2 separate regions of the Homo sapiens genome follow, and region 2 is linked to region 1. Evidence: promoter capture Hi-C in human tissues and cell types (Jung and others, 2019). All regions are on one chromosome and are shown on one strand. The core of a region is centred on a gene start or on the middle of the fragment in contact, and the rest is flanking DNA. Distances in the headings are between cores, read along the strand shown.

Region 1 (4,082 bases), core at 55-2,554:
TGTGAATCTGTTGCTGGAAACCAAATGTGCCCTGAGGCAAAGTTCCTGTTTCCTTCCCCAAATCCGAGTTTCACCCCCTTCACTCTCAGGCTTCCGGGTAGAAAAAAACCTCTCCCTTGTTCCCTCGCCCCACAAACACCCCGGCAGATGGACACCTCCTGGCCCGCCGGCCTCTGTACCCCTCCGAAATGGGAGTACCGCAGCATCCCACAGGAGCAGCCGCGCCCACCTGATGAGCACAGGTGTGTAGAGCAGGGCGGCGATGGGAGTCACGTTGATGCCCATCAGCATTTTGCTGTCGATGTCGGGCAGCCCCATGTTGCCATACTTCACCTCGCGGTAGGTCTCGTCGTAGTGCAGGATCAGCTGCATCTGCAGGAGGCCTGGGGACAGGACAGAGAGCGGCGTGCAGGGAGCAGCCTAGCTTTGGGCGCCACCGAGCAGAAGACGGCATGCAGGCCTCGCAGGGAGCTCCAATCACCGAAGGCATTCCCGCTGACAGCGCCCCTCAGGACAGCGGGGTTCCCGGGCTGCGCCACGCCTTCTGCCAGCCCGCGGCCACTTGGCCAGCTAAGCCCAGACCCCCACCCGCCTTGCTCCGCCGGCCTCCAATTCTGACGGTGGCAGGTCTGTCCGGGAGCCCGGACCCCCGTCCCCCACCCACACCGAGGCTCTGGCTGGGACCCGGGGACGCTGCGCTACTTGACCCCCCAACCCCACCCCCGCCGCGGGGGGCCGTGGCTGCAGCTGCGAGGGCAGCGGAGGGGAAGTGAGAGCGGGCGGGAGGCGGCGGCCCGCGGTTTCTGTTTCCCGGGCCGGGCTGGGAGCGGGCGGGGCGGCCCCGGGTCCCCGAGCGGCACCTACCCAGGTAGACGCCGTAGGTGAGCATGCCCCCGGCGCTGGCAGCCAGCACGTTCTTGAGCACGCCCAGGCGCTTGCGGCGGTAGTAGCGGCGCTCCTCCTCCTCCTCGTTGTAGTTGGGGTACGCGCCCACCAGCTCGTCCAGCTGCGAGCCACGCACGCCGCTCGCACCCGCGATCGCGCCCCGAACCCGTGTCCCCCGGTGCCCGCCGCCCCCCGGCCCGCCCCGCCCCCGCCGGGGGGACCCTGGCCCACAGGGGACGCCCGCGCCTCGCACTCCGGGTCCCCGCTCACCGGGGCCTCGGGCCCGTCCGGGACCCCGAGCAGGTCCTCGTCGCCCTGCGGCCCCGCAGCCCCCGCCATCGGGTAGAGCGGCGGCTCCGCCTCCATGGCCCGAACTACTGCGGACTCGCGGCGGTCGCCCCGGAGTCCCTGCGACCGCCCGGCCACTTCCTCCCGGCGGCCGGGACCTGCCCCCGCCCCGCCCTGTCCCGCCCTGCGGGCCGCCTCCTCCAGGACACGTGTGTGTGTATGTGTGTGTGCGCGCGCGCGCGCGCGTGTGTGCAGGGGCCTGCCTGTGTGTGCCCTCTGGGGTGTGAGTTCGAATCCCCACTCAGCCACCTCCTGGCCCTGTGACTTTAGGAATTAACTCCATTTCTTTGTGCCTCGGTTTCCTCCGTTTCCTCGACGGTAAAACAGAAATACATGGCACTACCCCCGGGGCCATGGCGGAACTATTGAGTTAATGCAAAGCCTTGGAAAAGTGCCAGGGTTGCCTGGCTCCCTTAAGCTCCCCTCAGGGTTGCCTGGGTCGTCCCCAGCCCCACCTCCAAGCCTGCTGTTACAGCTCATCAAAGAGCACTGCAGGGACAGTAGCGTCACCACCTGGACCCCACCTCCCACCACCGGACGCTACAGCCAGAGCCCACCTCCCATGTCCCCATCCTGCTCCAGTTTGGGCTGTGCAAATGGGAGCTTGAGTGGGTCCTGGGAGGTGGAGATTGTGATCCCCACTGAACTACATGGGGGACCCTGCCACAACCATGTAGTGGGGCCCAGAGCCACCTGCCCCCATCCTGCTGGGCACTGGATCCCGGGCTGCAGCGGGAGCCTGTGGTGGGGCCGACACTCCAAAGCACTGGCTACCACCGACCTGGCTGGAGCCACGGGGCCACTTTTGAAAATATCCAGATTCTCTCCCCTGGGTTCCTTCTGGTTTGAATGCTCTTCCTGCTGCGCCTCCCAGGTGGCTTCCTTCCCACTCAGCTCTCAGAACAAGAGACCATCCCTGCAGAGAATGCAGTCCCTTCACTTCCCTTCTGGTTTTCCATGCCCTCCCTGTGCACCCCCCTCCACCCACTGCTCTTTAGGTACATCCTCTCCCAAATGCAGAGGATGGCATTGGGCACCTACTGAGTGATCAATACTTGTGACTGGATGGGTGCATGAGTGACTGGATGACAAACACCTCCCACCCCGCAAGGATTGCTGGGAAGGTGGGGGGAGGCGTGAATCTGCAGTGGCTTCAGGCTTCCAGGAGGTAGAACTTTCTCCAGGTGACGATGCCCAAGTGCAGATGTGGGGAACAGACAGGTGGATTCATGCAGGTGGGTGGCTGGAAGTGGGAGACAGGAAAGGAGCCGAAGAGAGGGCAGGGCCCGAGGCGCAGGGGCAGGGAGGAGGTGGGAGAGTATGGCTATGGCGGGGGCCGTTCTCAGATGGCAGACACCAGCATCATTACACAGTATGATGAGAAAGTGCAATTCTCCTGACTCAGCCTTGTGAGTAGCTGGAATTACAGGCGTGTGCCCCTACACCCAGCTGATTTTTGTATTTTTAGTAGAGATGGGGTTTCACCATATTGGCCCAGGCTGGTCTCGAACTCCTGACCTCAAGTGATGTACCCGCCTTAGCCCCCAAAGTGCTGGGAGTGGGCCCCCCGAGCTTCTCAATTTCCCTGAGGGACCCCAAACTTCTGGGGCCTGGTGCAATCTCTTCCTCCCCTTGTTCCTCTGGGCCTGGGGGTTGTGGCGGTTGCTATGGTTGCCCATCCTGGGCTCTTCCATCACCTGTGCTGTACCACCAATTCCCTGCACTCAATGTCTCCTACTCAAAACACCTGGAGAGGGTCGGGCGCTGTGGCTCACGCCTGCAATCCCAGCACTTTGGCTGGCCAAGGAGGATCACTTGAGCTCAGGAGTTCAAGACCAGCCTCAACAAAGTGAGACAAACCCCCCCCCCCAACCCATCTCTACAAAAAATACAAAAACTAGCCTGGTGTGATGGTGGACACCTGTAGCCCCAGCTACTCAGGAGGCTGAGGTGGGAGAATTGCTTGAGCCCAGGAGGATGAGGCTGCAGTGAGCTGAGATTGTGCCACTGCATTCCAGCGTGGGTGACAGAGTGAGACCTCTCAAACAAACAAACAAACAAAAAACAAAAAAAACAAAAAACAGCCCTGGAGGCACTAAACCCTGACTGATACACCTCCTCTCTCCAGAAAGGATTTTTTTTTTTAGGTGGTTTATGGAGCTGCTCTTGGGGAGCCTGGAGACTATCTAAGAGGCTGATAGGGTGGCCCAGATAAACACACCAGGGTGACCTGCGGGACAGAGATCTGAGCAGGGCCAGCACCTCCACCAACCCATCCAGGTTGCAACAGTGCACAGTCACATCCCCAGGAAGGGGTGGCCAGATCCCCCCGTGCTCACTGTTTGCCAATGCTTTTCTCTATAATAAGCCTTTACTTTCAGTTCTCATTATGAAAATAATCGATGTTCCTTGCAGAAAAGCAAGCAGAAGAGAATAAATATTGCTCTCAACTGGAACTCCCTGAAACAACCTCTTGGAATATTGTTGCCCCGCATTGCACTGACACAGGAGCGTGCTGGGCAGCCCACGTGATTCCCTTCACACCACTTCCCTGGCATGGATGTGATTCCACAATATTTTAAACATTAAAGCCAATGGGGATGATGATCACTGAGTCTGGCTCACAGGATGGTGGGAGGTCCCCAGGTTGGGGTGTGCCAAAGGCTCTGCCCAGTGCCTGGCACAGCAAATGCCCAGGTGGCTGCTGCTTTCCACTGAGACTTGAGGCTCCTGAGAGTTGGTGGCAAAGGGCTCACCCAGAGCTGAAGACTCCAGCCCATTCCTGTGCGAGGGCTCCAGGCACCTTGGAAGCACCGTGGGCCGGGGAGCCAGGCCAGGCTGGTTGTGGA
Region 2 (3,955 bases), core at 1,274-3,773, 150 kb after region 1:
TGATGCAGGAGAACCGCTTGAACCTGGGAGGTGGAGGTTGCAGTGAGTCAAGATTGTGCCACTGCACTTCAGCCTGGGCAACAGAGTGAGACTCCGTCTCTAAATCAATAAATTTCCTTTTCCCCTGGGCTCTATCATTAGCAAACACAAGTAATGCCCATGTGCTCTAGGACATCAGGGAGGGAGTAAACCTCACCTTCCTTTGCATGCGAGGGTCACACGTGCCATAGTCACAGGGAGTGCCCTGGAGCTGGCAACTTGCTTGTACTCTGCTCTGGGTGCGACTGGGTTCTGCAGCAGAGTACGCAACGGTGCAGCAGGTCAGTGACAGAAAGTTGACATTTGAGAAACGAGTCACACAAGGGCTCCCGGCAAGTTAGCTACCATTGGCTATTGGAAGAGTAGAGAGAAAACCTGAGATGCTGAACAAGACTCCTAAGTACTTAACAGACATGCCACGCTTAGCCTTTTTCTATACTGGGAACCCAAGTTTGGGTGGATACTTCAATCAATTAGGAAAAATCAATAATCAATACTTGACTAGTCCCGTGTGTGCAGCACTCACCCAGATTATCCTCATGAGTGAATGCAGCTCAACCAGAAACTTAACTGATGACGGGACCAGGCGTCCACACTGATCTCCGGCACAGAATGATGCTGGGTGCCAGGAAAGAGATGTGGAGATTAAGCAGCTTGCTCAGGGATACTCAGATGTTGCAGGTTTCCTCTCTCCTGTACAGTCATATTTCAACAGTAAATGGGTGAAAAAAGGACCCAGGCCAGTCATGAGTATGCTAACTTTGACCAATACGGAGAGGGGGGAAAAAAACAACTCCAAGTAATCAGGAACTATTAATGCATTTGGGTTGCAAAAGCCTTCGATGTTATTGTGCTCCATGTTGAGGGCAAACATTTCTTGGGTTCAAGGACTAGGAAGGTATGTAGTTTAGTCTCCCTACTAAAAGAAGAATGTATGTTTACCCTCTCTTCTCTTAAAAATGAGTGGCACCAGACACAAGAGACCAGGGCCCAGAGAACTCAACACTCACAGGTATTGAAAAGCTTTAGAAATTGATTTTACAAATTGTTTTACATGAAAATTTTGTGGAGAAAGTCACCACTTTGATCTTTTTTTTTTCTTTTCAGATACAGTGAACACCGGCCAAATTGTTTTAATTTCCGAATTTATTAAAATGATTAACCTCAATACTGCAAGTGCATGTACAAAATATTTGTAAAAAATGTTTTTAATGAAACGTTAAAGAACTTACCTCAAATGCTGAAAAAGTCCTTTTTCATTCTTTCAGTACAAGGAATACATTGTATCTCAAAAGTATTACAACTCAGCAAAAACAATTTATAACAGTAATTTGAAAATGATTGAAAATTGAATACTTTACATATATTTCTATGATCATCTCCTAATTCTTACAATGCCAAAATCTTAACCAATCATTGCATAAGCTCAAGCTAAGAGTTTTATTGAATGCAACCTCTTCTAAACTGGTCAACGGTGTGTGGCTGTCACCATTCCACACGGTGAAGTTCTACAGCAGATCCGGAACAGTTCCGAGGCCCCTACCTTTACCAACGGAAATTAGGTTTCCCTAGAAGGCATCAACAGTGGCTGCTGAGTGCTTGTGCATACCGACTCCTGAGAGGCAGTGATTTACTACCAAATGTCACTGCTTTGAGACCCATGGGAAGGTTGGCCTCCAAAGAGGAGGCCATGATAAAATTAAAACATCAAAAATAAGTTACTAAAATTCAGCTGAAAAATGAAAATGGGAAATGTGTTTTGTCACTTTTTAAGATCGAAATTCCCAAAATAGCTATCGTTGGTATTCAAATAAGGTTTAAGATTTAGTCTCTGAACCTCTTCAAAACACCCCAAACTAAGGTGGGAATACAAGAGGTGACCCGCTGCCCTCCAGCACCTCCAGACACAGGGTCTACCTTCATCTTCCTCAGTGGCAGGGGTTCACATTTCTATGCAGGGACCCCATGAGGGCTGGACGTGCTCTGCAAAGTGCTCCGGGTGCCTCGGACAGGTGCTCCTGAGAGGCTGTGTGGGCTGCCCTACTTCACTGTTGAAGACCTCCAGACGCAGTGAACGGGGGTATGGGTGGGTGTGGAAGAAGGTCTACCACATGCTTTCCAAACGCCTGAGGAGTTCGACTGCACCACAACAAACAAGGATGAGACTATGTAAGACTGCAGAAGTAGTTCCTTAGAGAACCAGGAGAAAACAATCTACTTTCTAAAAATGTTCATGAGTCTTAATTTCTATTTGGAACCTATGGGCAATCAACAGTCTTAAGGAGCGTCATTGAAACAATATCCCCCCAAACCTGGAAACTAGTAGGAATCAATTAGTAGTAACAGTAAGCATTGAGATTTTCTCCACTGGACTTTTCATGACCTTCAGATTCCTTTTCATATTTCAAGACATGGGCTACTTTCCTATAGACACTATACAAATCCCCTGAATTGATTTTTACTTAGGAACACTGTATATCAGAAAGTACAGGTACACATTTCCCAGAAATAAAGAGACCTACTGGTGTCAAACACCTGTTACAGATTTATATTCCCAAATTCTCTGTCCAATGATTTGCAAAATAATCCAGAGAAATGAAAAGAACCTGGTATTGAACATAAAGTAGTAATAAAAATTTGCTCATTAAGTTAATTAAAATTAATTTCTCAAAGTGCTTCAAAAAACAAATTAAATCTGACTCCTTTTTGTTTAACTGATAATATAGTCAAAAAAATCTTTGATGTTTTCATAATAAACTAACATAAACTAACATAAGCCAAGAACTCCCACTGATGCAGTGCTTAAAACTATATATTTATAATTTCCTATTTTATTGGCATGAATATTTCTAAACTTAAAAACCTTCCTGGTAAGTTCTTTTAATTTCTTATGACAAAAATTTCTCACAACACACAAATATTTACAACATATACATTGTTTTCAGTTCTTTACATTGAATCTCAAAGACAAACTTTTTTTATAGGTTACCACAGAACAAAAGCTGTGACTCATGTTTTTATTTCATAAACTATTATAAGTTAAAGTGAATAGATTTTTTTAATATTCCTTGTAGCATTTTACAAGTGCAACAGAAAACTTGAAGAACCAAATTAAGATAGCTGTAGTTCATTAGATAAATGTTGCTTGTTGTCATCACGTTGTTCACAGCAAATTTTTGAAAAAATAAGCACCAATCATTCTTGCAAAGAACAATTTTATCTAAAAGGATTGAAAAGAGTTAAATACAAGGTTTTTAATTTACATGACAAGCAATAAATACGCTGTATCGAACCTCATCCCACACACTGCTACCCTCGTACATATAATGAACTGAAAAGTGAGCTGTCACGTATGTCATTTTTTTTTTTTTTTTAAGAAACCAATCTGACTCCCAACCAATGGTTTGCGATATTAACAAAGGCCACAAACAGTACACCTGGGCCAGCAAACAGTGTGAAACTGACAAAACTCCAAGGGGGAAACATCTAGCAAATAAATCAAAAAGCCAAAGATCATTGCTGGTGATATTAGCATACTAGAAACCCTTAATATGCTGCTACTATGATTTGTTTTAAATTATTGTTTAGTCATATATTAAAGAGCCAGCTGATGCTCTTACAGTTAAAAAAACTGTGTAGCCACATTACTGTTTTCAACGTCCTGTGTGGAAAGTTGCTATCACTGTACAATTTTGCTTGAGCCTTTATTTTACAACAGGGCTTTACCTCTAACTCAGAATTGCACGTAAGAAGGCTATTTAAAAAGTACGATAAAAATTTGCACAAATCAGACTTAAGAATTGAGTCAGTATGCTGTACACTTTCTACAATAGTATGCTGATAAGTGAAGGGACAATAGAAGTGCTGCCACTAAACTTTCAGTTGAGGAATAATTGACTGGAATTTTTTATTTCTT

What was found. The method cuts DNA at HindIII sites, captures the fragments that hold promoters and counts their contacts. A contact is called where the count stands out against the background at its distance.
Region 2: a fragment that was not itself captured here is called in contact with the fragment with the promoter of UNC93B1 in region 1 in 2 of the 25 tissues and cell types used here (lymphoblastoid cells and spleen).

Annotation. Positions count from the first base shown.
Region 1 is chr11:68,002,793-68,006,874 of GRCh38, forward strand. It overlaps UNC93B1 (unc-93B1 regulator of TLR signaling), which reads right to left and starts at 1,305. Exons shown (of 11, transcript NM_030930.4): 1 at 1,156-1,305; 2 at 865-1,006; 3 at 230-383. The coding sequence starts at 1,251. RefSeq lists enhancers at 1-57, 158-207, 308-357, 1,262-1,805, 1,806-2,348 and silencers at 658-1,067, 1,128-1,427. The HindIII fragment of the contact is 30,745 bases long and covers 1-4,082 here.
Region 2 is chr11:68,153,696-68,157,650 of GRCh38, forward strand. KMT5B (lysine methyltransferase 5B) reads right to left here. Exons shown (of 11, transcript NM_017635.5): 11 at 1,168-3,955. Among named protein-coding and RNA genes, the nearest start is that of CHKA-DT, 34 kb to the left of the region's middle. The HindIII fragment of the contact is 4,306 bases long and covers 371-3,955 here.